Linked DNA regions of Homo sapiens: region 1 is linked to region 2. Evidence: promoter capture Hi-C in human tissues and cell types (Jung and others, 2019). All regions are on one chromosome and are shown on one strand. The core of a region is centred on a gene start or on the middle of the fragment in contact, and the rest is flanking DNA. Distances in the headings are between cores, read along the strand shown.

Region 1 (7,380 bases), core at 210-2,709, 110 kb after region 2:
GAAGGAGAAAAGGAGAGAACCGGGAAGCAGCTGGCAGGTGCGGATCCCACAGTCAAGAATGTCCGGACTCCCTCCTCCCACGCCACATGGGCATTCATTGGTAACACTCAGATGGTGTGAATCATGGCTGCCTGTGTGGATGCTTACTTGGATACAGGTTTTATTTCCCCTAAAAGACTGGAAGTCCCTTTGAGGCTAGTATTACTCCTGACCACAAATCCTGACTTTCCCTAGTGCCTTCCAGAATACTACATTTTCTCTTTCTGTGTTTTTTAAAACAGAGTTTGGATTTTGTTCTATGGCCCAGGCTGGAGTGCAGTGGCATGATCATAGCTTACTGCAGCCTTGAACTCCTGGGCTCAAGCAATCCTCCTGCCTCAGCCTCTCGAGTAGCTGGTACTACAGGCACATGTTACCACACCCAGCTAATTTTTTTAAATTAATTTTTCTGTAGAGATGGGGAGTCACTATGTTGCCCAGGCTGGTCTTGAACTCCTGGGCTCAAGTGATCCTCCTGCCTAAGCCTCCCAAAGTGCTGAGATTACAGGTGTGAGCCACTGTGCCTGGCCCTTGTCTTTTTTTTTTTGAAACGGGAGTCTCACTCTGTTGCCCAGGCTGGAGTGCAGTGGCGCTGTCTCGGCTCACTGCAACCTCCACCTCCTGGGTTCAAGCGATTCTCCTGCCTCAGCCTCCCGAGTAGCTGGGATTACAGGTGCCTGCCACCACGCCAGGCTAATTTTTTGTATTTTTAGTAGAGACGGGGGTTTCACCATGTTGGCCAGCGTGTTCTCAAACTCCTGGCCTCGTGATCCACCCGCCTTGGCCTCCCAAAGTGCTGGGATTACAGGTGTGACCCACCGCGCCTGGCCAGCCTGGCCCTTCTCTTTAACTTCAAATAGTATGTAACAACCTGATTCCAACCCTTTCTTCTAATCCATCATCCTTTTTTCCTTCTTGCCCTGTCCTGGACCTGGGGAAAGCCATTGACTGGCTCTCCACAGTGCCTCTTCATGTCTATCTTGCCTGCCTCGTGAAACTCTGACCCTGAATCAATGCTGCAACCTGTCACTTCCATCCTCAACTCATGTTTCTGTGCGGGGCCAGAGAAAAGACTGAACTGTGCAAAGTGTGCCAGTGCGACAGTGCTTCTCAAACTTTCTGATCTCAGAACTCTTTATACTCATCAAAACTGAGGGACGATTTAAAAACCAGTTAATTCTGCTCATAGCTCAAATAGTTACATAAGTGCTTTTCCCTGAGAAAACCACTGCATTCAGTATGCAGCAGAAATGCTATACGTGTTTGTCACACAGACATCGTGAAGACATGTATTAAGGATGGATTTAATATGGTGAGTACTTTTTACTGGCACTGGTTTTGAGCAGTGGGGGTGTGGCAGTGCAGAGCTCAGTAACCTCTCTAGTTCCACTGCCTTGACCTGCCTGTGGTGCTGGGGACTCTGCTCATCATTGCTCCTGTGCCACAAGTGCTGATGGCAACATAGAGAGCAGTGTGAGTAACTCTTTAAGAAGATTATTAAAACAGCTTTAACCTTGTGGACACCCTGAAAGGATCCTGGGGATCTCAGGTGTTTAAGGAGCACACTATCAGTAACTACCGTTCTACAAAAACTCAAGATTTTCAGCCTCATCAAGGCCCTCAACAGCTTCTGGAAAGCTTTGGTCAGTCCCCTCCTCTACTCTCAGATTTCACCCAACTTGCACGGCTTGAATCATGACCTTCTTGCTAACTGACCCTCATTACTCTCAGCATATCTTCTTGAGGGTGCTACAGAGAAAACTGAGGCACCCAAGAGTGATCTTCGCGGAATTCCCTCCTAGCCAGATTCACACACACCCTTACTGACACTGCCAAGAAAGATATCCTCTCTCTACTCAAAGTCAATTCTCCCCAACTTGTGGCCTGGTCCACAACCCCTTCCCCTCATGTGGACCAGTCGTTTCTGTCTCCACTTTCCATTTCAAATTTCTCACTTCCATTCACTGTTTCAACTCCTCTTGCATGGTCACCAACAAGCCCCTCATTGGAAAATCAACCCACATTTTCCAATCTATATCTTGCTAGACCTCTCTGCTGCATGGACACTGTTGTGCATGCCTACTTTCTCAAAATGCCATCTTCTGCTTCTGTGATATCACATGGCACTAGTTTCTTTTCTTTGTCCCTATTCCATCACTGGCTGAAGGTTTGTGTTCTCCAACTTCTCACAATCTCACTCTTCTTCTTCTTCTTCTTCTTTTTTTTTTTTTTGAGACAGGGTCTCACTTTGTTGCCCAGGATGGAATCCAGTGGCCTGATCTCAGATCACTGCAATCTCTACCTCCTGGGTTCAAGCGATCCTCCTACTTCAGCCTCCCGAGTAGCTGGGATTACAGGTGTGTGTCACCACATCAGGCTTATTTTTGTATTTTTGGCAGAGACGGGGTTTTGCCATGATGCTCAGGCTGGTGTCGAACTCCTGGGCTCAAGTGATCCACCTGCCTCGGCCTCCCAAAGTGCTGGGATTACAGGCATGAGTGACCGCACCCGGCCACAATCTCATTCTTCTATCTTTTCAATCTCTTGCAAGATTTAAAAGACCACAGGTTAAATACCTCCCAAAGCTATATTGAGCTGAGGGTGACCAAGCTGTAGATCAATAAATCCAAGTTTGTGTAGGTAATAAAATATATAGCCTATGATTCCATTTACAATCAATGTATGTATCTATATGTGTAATAAAGTCTGCAAGGTTTTCAAACATTAGGTTATCTGAGAAATGGAGACAGACTTCTTATAGAAATTGCGTTTTTTAATTTAAAAAAAAAAAGTGGGGGCCAGGAGTGGTGGCTCACGCCTGTAATCCCAGCACTTTGGGAGGCTGAGGCAGGCAGATCACGAGGTCAGGAGATCAAGACCATCCTGGCTAACACGGTGAAACCCCGTCTCTACTAAAAAATACAAAAAATTAGCTGGGCATAGCGGTGGGTGCCTGTAGTCCCAGCTACTCCAGAAGCTGAGGCAGGAGAATGGCGTGAACCTGGGAGGTAGAGCTTGCAGTGAGCCGAGATCTCGCCACTGCACTCCAGCCTGGGCGACAGAGTGAGATTCCATCTCAAAAAAAAAAACAAAAAACAAAAAAAAAAAAAACGGGGGGCGGGGGGGGTCCGGGTGTGGTAGTGGCAGGAGGATCCCTTGAGTCCAGGAGTTCAAGACAGGACTGGGAAACATAGCGAGACCCCATCTCTACAAAATTTATTTAAATTAGCCAGGCACGGTGCTTGCCCGAGCCCAGGAGTTCGAGGCTGCAGTGAGCTGTGATTGTGCCACTGCACTCCAGCCTTCCAGCCTGGGCAACAGAGGGAGAACCCTGTCTCTTCAGGAAAAAAAAAAGGGGGGGGGTGGGGGGGAGAAAATAGAATTCCTTATCTTCCCTCACTCTCGGGATCACCTGCTGGTTGTGCCCACCAGCATCCACTGCCCCTCTAATCCATCCAACAGTGTTTGCTATAGGGGAGCGCTCAGGCTTGCCCACGCTCCTGGGCTGTGCTGTGGGAATGGTGACACTCACTGGGCCATATTCACCTGAGTCCCCTTGGCCACAGTGACTGCTCAGGGATAGGCATGGCATCCAAGCTGAGCACAAAGAGGTGATGAGAGTCAGCCTAAGTCCTGGCTGCAGTGATCAGGTCAAGTGTCTTACTCTCATCATGAAAAGAGAGGCTGACTGACAGACAGCCCAGAGCAAGGCAAAACTGGATGATAAAGAAGTCCAGATTCTAGACACAGTGTCTGTGCCCATCAATCCACATGTGACTGAACTTTTCAGTTATCAGAGCCAATAAAGCTCTTTCTTGGGCCAGTAAGTTCTTGTTATGTGGAACTGTGGAACTGAAAAGACCTCAGACGGTTGACCCACCAAACCCGGCCTTCTGGTCTGTGTGAATGACTCACCCACATTCCCTTGCTCCCCAAGCACCATCATTCAATGGTAACCACTGCTTATCTTTTCACATATGTTGTTGAATTCTTTTCTATGCATTTTCTTGTAGAAGGCTGAAATCATATTATGTATGACAAATGCTGTTTTATTTTCCCTTAGTAAATACTGTTCATTAGCATTTTCCCCCACTATCAAAACTTTGTAAAAAAAATCACTTTTAGCGGCCTTAAAATATTCCTTTAAGTAGATGTCTCATAATTTACTCAGCCATTTGATTAACATTTGGCACTTAGGTTGTTTCTAATGCCTAACAGGTGCCTTAAATTAAACACAGACTAAACCAAATTCTCAACTGCTGTCACCCAAACTGCTCCTCCTATAGTTTTCCTCATCTCAGTATTTCCTGTAGACTGTGTGTTCTTGTCCTTTGCTCATTTATTTATACACTGTGGTCTTAGATTTGTCTCTGCTCTTTAGATACTAATAATATTAATAATGAATCTAAAGTTAACAATAATTCCTTAACTCTTTTAATTATCCTATGAGGTGGGAACTACAATTGTCTCAATTTAGGGTTGAGGAAATCATGAAACAGCTTAAATAACTTGTCCAAAGTCAAAAATCCAAGTAGCAGAACCCTAGTTTGAACTCAGGAGGCGGACTCCAGAGCACCGGGTATAACCACTGTACTTTGCTGCCTTCTACAGAACAGTTAGGAGAAGGTCCAGTGTTACTCAATTTAGAACATTTTAGACCTATTGTCCACACCTAATCTAATTTTATTTAGCTTTTAAACTTTTATATGTCTCTCTTTCCTTGATGTTTGTTTTAAAACATAGGAAGTCTTTCTCCATGCAGAGATCAGAAAAATACTGAATACTCTATTGTTAGTTTCTCATGATATAAATTTTAAATAAGTATCAATTCTTTTAGAATTCATTTTGATGTGTAATGATTTAAATTGATTTTCCTCCAAATAGCTATTCAACTAGCCCAGTACCATCTGCTGAATAATAATTTCTTCTCCCTCACTGAAGTCATTTGAGAGAATCGTAAGCTAAGACTCCTTTAAAGAAAAATCTACAATAGTGTCGGTTTAAGGGATACAGCAATCAAAAATTTCCAACAAACATGAAAAAATTTCAATCTCACTCTTAATTACAGAAAAACAAATTAAATGCCACTCCCCCATTTGGTTGGCAGACCTAAAAGTTCAATACCCAGAATTGCTGGAACAAAAGACATGTGACAGAATTGCCAGACTGTCCTCTACAGAGACTCAACCAGTTTACACTCCACCAGCTCTCTCCGAAAACACCCTTTTCCCCACAGCCTTGACCACACAGTAGGGTGTCAAACTTTGATGTCTGCTACTCTGTTGAGGAGGGCGTTAAAAAAAAAAAAGAATTACTGACTTTTCAATGTTTGTATCTTGTATAATGAGTAAACATGAGTACCTTTTATATATTTAAGAGCTGTTTCATCTTCCTTTTCTGTGAACTCTCATTAAAAATTCTAGCTTGTAAGTTTTTTAATCTCTTGAGTTCCCTGAGGTCTTCCATTCATTTCCTGACAAATCTAGACTATCAGTTCTGTAAGAAAGCTCTCTCTCTCTTTTTTTTTTAATGAGTCCTCAGACTTCCCATCTCCAAACAGGTTCTTAATCCCTCTTATTGCTGGTACTATGTATGTCCAGGGCCTTAGAAGCCTTGATGGCACCAAACAGACACTCAAATCTATCCACTGAATGAATGAATTTATGTATGTTTTCTTAAAAATATAAAAACAACTGGCTAGATGTGGTGGCTCATGCCTGTAATCCCAGCACTTTTGGAGGCCAAGGCGGGTGGATCCCGAGGTCACGGGATCAAGACCATCCTGGCCAACATGGCCAATATCTTGGCTAAAAATACAAAAAATTAGCCAGGTGTGGCGGTGCGCGCCTGTAGCCCCAGCTACTAGGGAGGCTGAGGCAGGAGAATTGCTTGAACCTGGGAGGCAGAGGCTGCAGTGAGCCGAGATTGCACCACTGCATTCCAGCCTGGGTGACAGAGTGAGACTCCCTCTCAAAAAAAAAAAAAGAAAAAAAAGAAAAGAAAAATAACAGTGCTGGGTGCGGTGCTCACGCCTGTAATCCCAGCACCTTGGGAGGCCAAGGTGGGCAGATCACGAGGTCAAGAGTTCGAGACCAGCCTGGCCAACATGGTGAAACCCCGTCTCTATTAAGAATACAAAAATTAGCTGGGCATGGTGACATGTGCCTATAATCCCAGCTACTCGGGAGGCTGAAGCAGGAGAATTGCTTGAACCTGGGAAGCAGAGGTTGCAGTGAGCCGAGATCGCGCCACTGCACTCCAGCCTGTGTGACAGAGTAAGACTCTGTCTCGAAAATAAATAAATAAATAAATACATACATACATAAAAAGCAAAAATTAGCCAGGTGTGGTGGCACGCACCTGTAATCCCAGCTATTCAGGAGGCTGAGGTGGGAGAATCGCTTGAACCTGGGAGGCAGAGGTTGCAGTGAGCCAACATCGTGCCACTGCACTCCAGCCTGGGAGACAGAGCAAGACGCTGTCTCAAAAAAAAAAAAAAAAATTAGCCACGCATGGCGGCACATACTTGTGGTCTCAGCTATTCAAGAGACTGAGGCGGAGGATTGCTTGAGCCCAGGTGGCGGAGGTTGCAGTGAGCCAAGACTGTGCCACCGCACTCCAGCCTGAGTGGCAGAGTAAGACCTTGTCTCAAAACAACAACAAAAAAACATGGTAGAACTGTTGAAGTGATGTTCTGAGATTTGGTTCCAAGAGACCTTGCAGCATAGGCTCTTGCTCTTTTGGAATATTTCTGCCATCATGAGAAGCCACTGAGTCTAGTCTACTTTAGGATAAAGAGGCAACTGTAGGAAGGACCAACTGTTAAGACGTTAAACCACCACAATTGAGGGATGGTGAAGGGAGCCAGCAGATGACTGCAGTGCATGGCTGAACCCAGGTGGGCTCAGCAGAACTACCCAGCTGTGCCAGCCCAATGGACTCATGAACAAATGCATGGCTGTTATTTCAAGCCTGAGTTTTGGAGTGTTTTTTTAATGCAGCAATAGGTAACTGATGTAAACTTTAATGTCCAATGTGAGTCTGGCTGAAGGACACTTATGGGTCACATCCCTACAAGGGAACACCATGTAGTCACTCTTTAACAACTAGAGGCCGGGTGCAGTGGCTCACACCTGTAATCCCAGCACTTTGGGAGGCCAAGGCAGGTGGATCAACTGAGGTCAGGAGTTCGTGACCAGCTTGACCAACATGATGAAACCCCGTCTCTACTAAAAATAAAAAAAAATTAGGCCGGGCTCAGTGGCTTACGCCTGTAATCCTAGCACTTTGGGAGGCCGAGGCGGGCAGATCAGGAGGTCAGGAGATCGAGACCATCCTGGC
Region 2 (6,436 bases), core at 3,580-6,079:
GGATTGTTCTGAGCAGGGGGCACCCAGGACTGCCTGGAGTGGGGGAGGCTCCCACTGACCGACTTGCAGGGCAGTGGAGGGAAGGGACCAAAGACCGTAGGCATAGTGTAGACCAGACAGGATCCTGGGGCTCCCAAAGGACAGGTGGAAAACCAGGGGGCCCCTCCCACATCTCCAGCCCCACTCCTGCCTCTCCCTGTGGGCATGGCTCCCCATGCTACCCTCTGCCTGCAGTGCACTGGGTTAGAGCCAGGATGGTGTCTGGCCCCAGGGAGGTGCGGAGGCATGCTTACCAGGGGGAGCCAGGGCAATGGAGCTTGGGCAGGCTGTTTCCAGCCACATATGAGAAATGGAAGCCTCCAGGGTTGAGAACCAAGGGAGTCAGATCAACCAGTCAGATCAACCATGTGGCTGCAAGACAGGGCAGAGAGGGGACGTCAGCCCCAGGCCCCTCCACACCTCATGTGCAGTTCTACAGCACGGGCACAGGCACTGCCTACACAGAGCCAACCTCTGAGCCCAGACCCCTCCACTGTAAAATGAGAATAAGCACTCAGGATGGTTGTGAGGATTCACTAACAGACTGAGAAGAAATGGTGACCTAGGCTGGCACATGGGACACTCCCCAAGATGCTCCTTTTTCATTTCCCTCAAGCCCAGAGTAAACCCCTTCGACCTCCTTGGGTTTCGTGACAGGCCATTCCAGTTTAATTTCACTTCAGATCTTGAAATGTCCAAATTCTTCACCTGGAGGATAGAAAGGAAATCTCAGGATAAGTTTGTTGGCCTCATTTGAAGAAAAGTACCTTATAGAAGAGCCATAAGAATGACGTGGCTTTCATTCACTCAGCAGATACATTGGGACCATCTCTTGTGCCCACCTTGAGCTTGGTTAGGGGTACAGGAGATGGGGTCGGGCACGCTGGGAACTAAGGAGGTCTGAACCCAGCCTGGGGGATGGAGGACTGCCTGGAGGTGGAGGCCAGACCTGAATGAGTCACACAGGCTAAGTGGGGAGTCAAGAGGTGCAGGCAGTTAGGCCACCACACCTGGCCGCTCATCTTTTTCAGCATTGAATAATATTCCATTGCCTGGATATGCCACATTTTATCATTCGCCCAATGAAGGATATCCTGGTTGCCTCCAAGTTTTGCAATTATGAATAAAGCAGTATAAACATCTGTGTGGAGGTTTTAGAGTATACATAACTTTTCAACTCATTTGGGTAAATACCAAGGAGCATGCTTGCTGAATCATAGGGTACGATAGCCAAACTGTCTTCCAAAAAGACTGTACCATTTTGCATCCAGCAATGAATAAGAATTCAAAGGCCTTGGCTGGGCACAATGGCTCATACCTATAATCCCAGCACTTTAGGAGGCTGAGGCGGGCGGATCACGAGGTCAAGAGATGGAGACCATCCTGGCCAACATGGTGAAACCCTGTCTCTACTAAAAATACAAAAATCAGCAGGGCGTGGTGGCTCATGCCTGCAGTCCCAGCTACTTGGGAGGCTGAGGCAGAAGAATCGCTTGAACCCAGGAGGCAGAGGTTGCAGTGAGCCAAGATCGTGCCACTGAACTCCAGCCTGGCGACAAAGTGAGACTCTGTCTTTAAAAAAAAAAAAAAGAATTCAGAGGACTTTTTGTGTAAGGAACTCACACTGTTTTATAAAAAGACAATTCAGAATTCTGGCCGAGCGTGGTGGTGCACTACTGTAATCCCAGCAATTTGGGAGGAGTGAGGTGGGGGATCACTTGAGCTCAGGTATTCAAATTAGCCAGGCATGTTGGTGCGCACCTGTAGTCCCAGCTACTTGGGAGGCGTGAGTGGGAGAATCTCTTGAGCCCAGAGGGTGGAGGCAGGCACCTGTAGTCCCAGCTACTCGGGAGGCTGAGGCAGGAGAATTGCTTGAACCCGGGAGGTGGAGCTTGCAGTGAGCCGAGATCACGCCACTGTACTCCAGCCTGGGCAACAGTACGAGACTCCATCTCAAAAAATAAAAAGTAATAATAATAATAATAATAATAATAATAATAAATCTTTAAGTTCACCAATAACAATAGATACAAAATATTCCATCAAACGGGTGGAACATCATTTACTCAACTGTTCTTGCTTTTTGAAATATTTCTCCAATGGGGTCAATTTTTAGGTTATTGGTGCATTTTGCTTTCTGACTGAGTCATCATGGTGCATCACCACAAATGGGTTATTTTTAATTGGTTTGTATTTATTTGTTTGCTTGCTTATTTAGAGACAGAGTTGTGCTCTGTTGCCCAGGCTGTAGTGCAGTGGCGCGATCTCAGCTTACTGCAACCTCTGCCTCCCAGGTTCAAGCGATCACCATGCCTCAGGCCTCCTGAGGAGCTGGGATCACAGGCACATGCCACCACGCCCAGCTAATTTTTGTATTTTTAGTAGAGACAGGGCTTCACCATGTTAGCCAGGCTGGTCTCGAACTCCTGACCTCAGGTGATCCAACCGCCTTAGCCTCCCAAAGTGCTGGAATTACAGGCGTGAGCCACCGCACCGACTGTCCCCTCCCCACACCCCGGCCCTTTTTTAAAGAGACAGGATCTCACTCTGTTGCCCAGGCTAGAGTGCAGTGGCTTGATCATAGTTTACTGCAGCCTCAAACTCCTGGGCCTCAAGTGATCCTTCCACTACAGCCTCCCAAGTAGCTGGAATCACAGGTGCTGCCACCATGCTGGGCCTAAGATTCCAGCCCTTAAGGAGCTACATCCCATCCACTGTATGTGTGTCATGGAGGCAGTGGTTGTGTCAGGGAGGGTGCTCAGTAAACCGGGACACAGACTGAATTACACAGGATTACAAATTGTGAGGAATTGTGACAGACTTTATGGGAGATGCATGGAAGTGGGTGGTTAGGGAAGGTCTCTCTGGGGAGGTGACACTTATGTTAAAACCTAGAGAATAAGAAGCCAGCCATGAAATAAGGCAAAGATAGCTGGCTTTCGGTGACTGGGTGGATGGTGGTACTGCTCAGCAGAGTGGGGACTGGGAGAAGAGGGAGGATTGAAAATTCTGCTTTATGGCCGGGTGCGGTGACTCATGCATGTAATCCCAGGACTTTGGGAGGGCTGAGGCGGGAGGATCACCTGAGGTCGGGAGTTCGAGACCAGCCTGACCAACATGGAGAAACCCCTTCTCTACTAAAAATACAAAATTAGCCAGGCGTGGTGGCGCATGCCTGTAATAATCCCAGCTACCTGGGAGACTGAGGCAGGAGAATCGCTTGAACCTGGGAGGCGGAGGTTGCAGTGAGCCAAGATCACACCATTGCACTCCAGCCTGGGCAACAAGAGCAAAACTCCATGTCAAAAAAAAAAAGAAAAAAAAAAAGAAAATTCTACTTTGACCAGACATGTTAATTTAATTTTTTTAGGCAGAGTCACTCTGTCACCCAGGCTGGGATGCAGTGGCCTAATCTTGGCTCACGGCAACCTCTGCCTCCCCAGTTCAAGCTACTGTCTCGGCCTCCCAAGTAGCTGGAATTACAGGTGTGTGCCACCACACCAGGCTAATTTTTTGTATTTTTAGTAGAGATGGGGTTTTGCCATGTTGGCCAGGTTAGTCTTGAACTCCTGACCTCAAGTGATCCGCCTGCCTCAGCCTCTCAAAGTGCTGGGATTGGCCGGGCGTGGTGGCTCACGCCTGTAATCCCGGAACTTTGGAAGGCCAAGGCAGGCGAATCAGGAGGTCAGGAGATCGAGACCATCCTGGCTAACATGGTGAAACCCCGTCTCTACTAAACACACACACACACACACACACACACACACACACAAAGTGCTGGGATTACAGGCGTGAGCCACCACGCCCATCCAGACATGTTACATTTCAGATCAGTGGTTACCCAAGTGGAGATCAGGAACCTGGAGTGCTGGTGACTTAGTACTGGGAGTCATGGGATACAAATGGCATTTAAAATTAGGAGCCTAGGCAAGATTACCCTGGGCCTGAGTGTAGCTAGGGGCCCAAGGTACTGATCTGACCCAAGGGAAGGGTCTGGCAGAAGAGACGGAAGGGATCAGGTAGGGCTTTGGACCTCTAGGCTTGATGGCCACCTGCTGCTGGGCCTCCGAGGGGCCTGGAGGCGGTGGGGACCGAATATGCAGAGAGAATGAGAAGTGAGCGAGTAGAACGAGAGTGGTACATGGCTTTGAAGGCATCTGCCACGGAGGCGGGAAGGGATGGGGTGGAGGCTCATGAGACTTGAAGCTCTAGGAGGACGTTGAAAAAGACCTGAGCGCTGGCCGGGCGCGAAGCCTCAGGCCTGTAATCCCAGCACTTTGGGAGGCCAAGGCGGGAGGACTGCTTGAGCTCAAGAGCTCCAGACCAGCCTGGGCAACATTGTAAGAGCCTGTCTCTACAAAAAATTAACAAATTAGCCGGGTGTGGTGGTGCGTGCCCGTAGCTACTCGGGAGGCTGAGGTGGGAGAATCGCTTGAGCCTGGGAGGTCGAGGCAGTAGTGAGCTGTGATTGTGCCACTGCACTCCAACCTGGGCGACAGAGCGAGACCCTGTCTCGAAAATAAATAAATAAGACCTGAGAACCCAGTATGGGAATGGCCCTGAGCCGTGGCTAGGGGGGTAGACAAGGCGGTCCAGACAGACCCCTCAAGAAGATGGGGCTTCGAGGCTGAGGGAGCTCGGCCCCGAAAAGACGCCTGCGGGAGATGGCACACCTAGCTAGGACCCCATACTGGGCAGGCGATCCTTCCGAGCATGAGCACCTGGCGCTAGCGAACCACAATTCCCAGCACGCCAGGCGCCCGTTTCCGGGGCGCGCCGCGGAACCCGGAAGTGGTCACGGAACTCGGCTGCGGCTCCATGGTCTGAGTTGTCAGCCGTTGTTTTTTCGTGCTCGCTAGTCGCCGCCGCCGCTCCGCCATGGGGAAGCGACAGCACCAAAAGGACAAAATGTAAGTTGAGCCGCAGTCGGGAGCGGCGCTCCACTCTGCCTCAGTGAACCGCCTGTCCCGCACTGCGCGCCGCTCGCCTTCCCTCTCAGCTACTCCCCAGAGCACAGCCCAAAGGTCACTTCCTCCCGGAAGCTGCCGCCCTGTCTCCAGTCAGGGTAATGACCCTCGGGCCGCCGCGCTCTCCCGGGGCCGCGGCTCCGATGACGTCAGCTGCGGGCTCGAGCGCAGCCCGGTTTTCCTTACTCTGGTTCTGCCCGGACCGTCCCCCGTCTGTTCGCGAGTTTCGCCCTTGAATGAGTAGTCTCTACCTCTTCCGTACTTCACGTCTCGCTGTGTTCTGGTTCATGCCTATCAGCCTGCAAACGTGCTGCAGAGCCTTCTAATTTAAAGCAAACCAGGTCGGGCGCAGTGGCTCACCTGTAATCACAGCACTTTGGGAGGCCGAGGCGGGCGGATCACCTGAGGTCAGGAGTTCAAGACCAGCCTGGCTAATACGGTGAAACCCCGTCTCTACTAAAAATACAAAAATTAGCGGGGCGTGGTGACGGGCGCCTGTAATCCTAGCTATTTGGGAGGCTGAGGCAGGGGAATCGCTTGAACCCGGGAGGCGGAGGTTGCGGTGAGCCGAGATCGTGTCACTGCACTCCAGCCTGGGCGACAGAGCGAGACGCTGTCTCAAAAATAATAAATAAAATTTAAAAATCCACCCGTGCCCCGTGCCCCACGTCCCACGTTCCCCTCCCGCTGCCGCCGTGTTGTTTCTCTTAAGAACAAGTGAGAGACTAGTGGCTTCATGCTGTTTTCTGAGTCTCTTGAAACCACTCAAGTCAGAATTTCGACCCCAGAACTGTTGGGCTTCTCAACAGTATGTCACACCGTTGACCACTCCCTCTTTCTGAAGCCCTCCTTTGGTATCTGGGATTTCACCTGCTCTTTGTTTTCTCTCGACTTCAGCGGCCTCTCTTTTCAGGTTCCCAGCGACTTCTTGTTGCTAAATATAGTATTCAATCCTCAGTCCTCATTTTTTTTTTTTTTTTTTTTTGAGACGCAGTTTCGCTCTTGTTGCCCAAGCTAGAGTGCAATGGTGAGATCTTGGCTCACCGCAACCTCCGCTTCCCGGCTTCAAGAGATTTTCCTGCCTCAGCCTCCCGAGTAGCTGGGATTACAGGCATACGCCACCATGCCCAGCTAATTTTGTATTTTTAGTAGAGAAGGGGTTTCTCCATGTTGGTCAGGCTGGTCTCGAACTCCTGACCTCAGGTGATCCACCTGCCTCGGCCTCCCAAAGTCCTGGGATTACAGGCGTGAGCCACCGCGTCTGGGCAGCCTCAGTCCTCATTTTGTTGGGCTTCTCAACAGTATGTCCCACTGTTGACCACTCCCTCCTTCTGAAGCCCTTCTTTGGTATCTGGGATTTCACATGCTCTTTGTTTTCCATCGACTTCAGCGGTCTTTCTTTTCCCAGTCTCCTTTCTGGACCCTCCTCC

Evidence for each region. Contacts are between HindIII fragments. The study calls those that stand out against the background at their distance.
Region 1: a contact is called between a fragment that was not itself captured here and the fragment with the promoter of PPIL2 in region 2, in 2 of the 25 tissues and cell types used here (dorsolateral prefrontal cortex and lymphoblastoid cells).

The regions. Positions count from the first base shown.
Region 1 is chr22:21,775,215-21,782,594 of GRCh38, forward strand. All of the region lies in intron 6 of MAPK1 (mitogen-activated protein kinase 1), which reads right to left. Among named protein-coding and RNA genes, the nearest start is that of YPEL1, 43 kb to the left of the region's middle. The HindIII fragment of the contact is 9,569 bases long and covers 1-6,244 here.
Region 2 is chr22:21,661,183-21,667,618 of GRCh38, forward strand. It overlaps PPIL2 (peptidylprolyl isomerase like 2), which reads left to right and starts at 4,830. Exons shown (of 20, transcript NM_014337.4): 1 at 4,830-4,949. The coding sequence starts at 4,918. It also overlaps the pseudogene LOC107985532. RefSeq lists enhancers at 4,762-5,672, 4,907-5,146, 5,217-5,266. The HindIII fragment of the contact is 22,549 bases long and covers 1-6,436 here.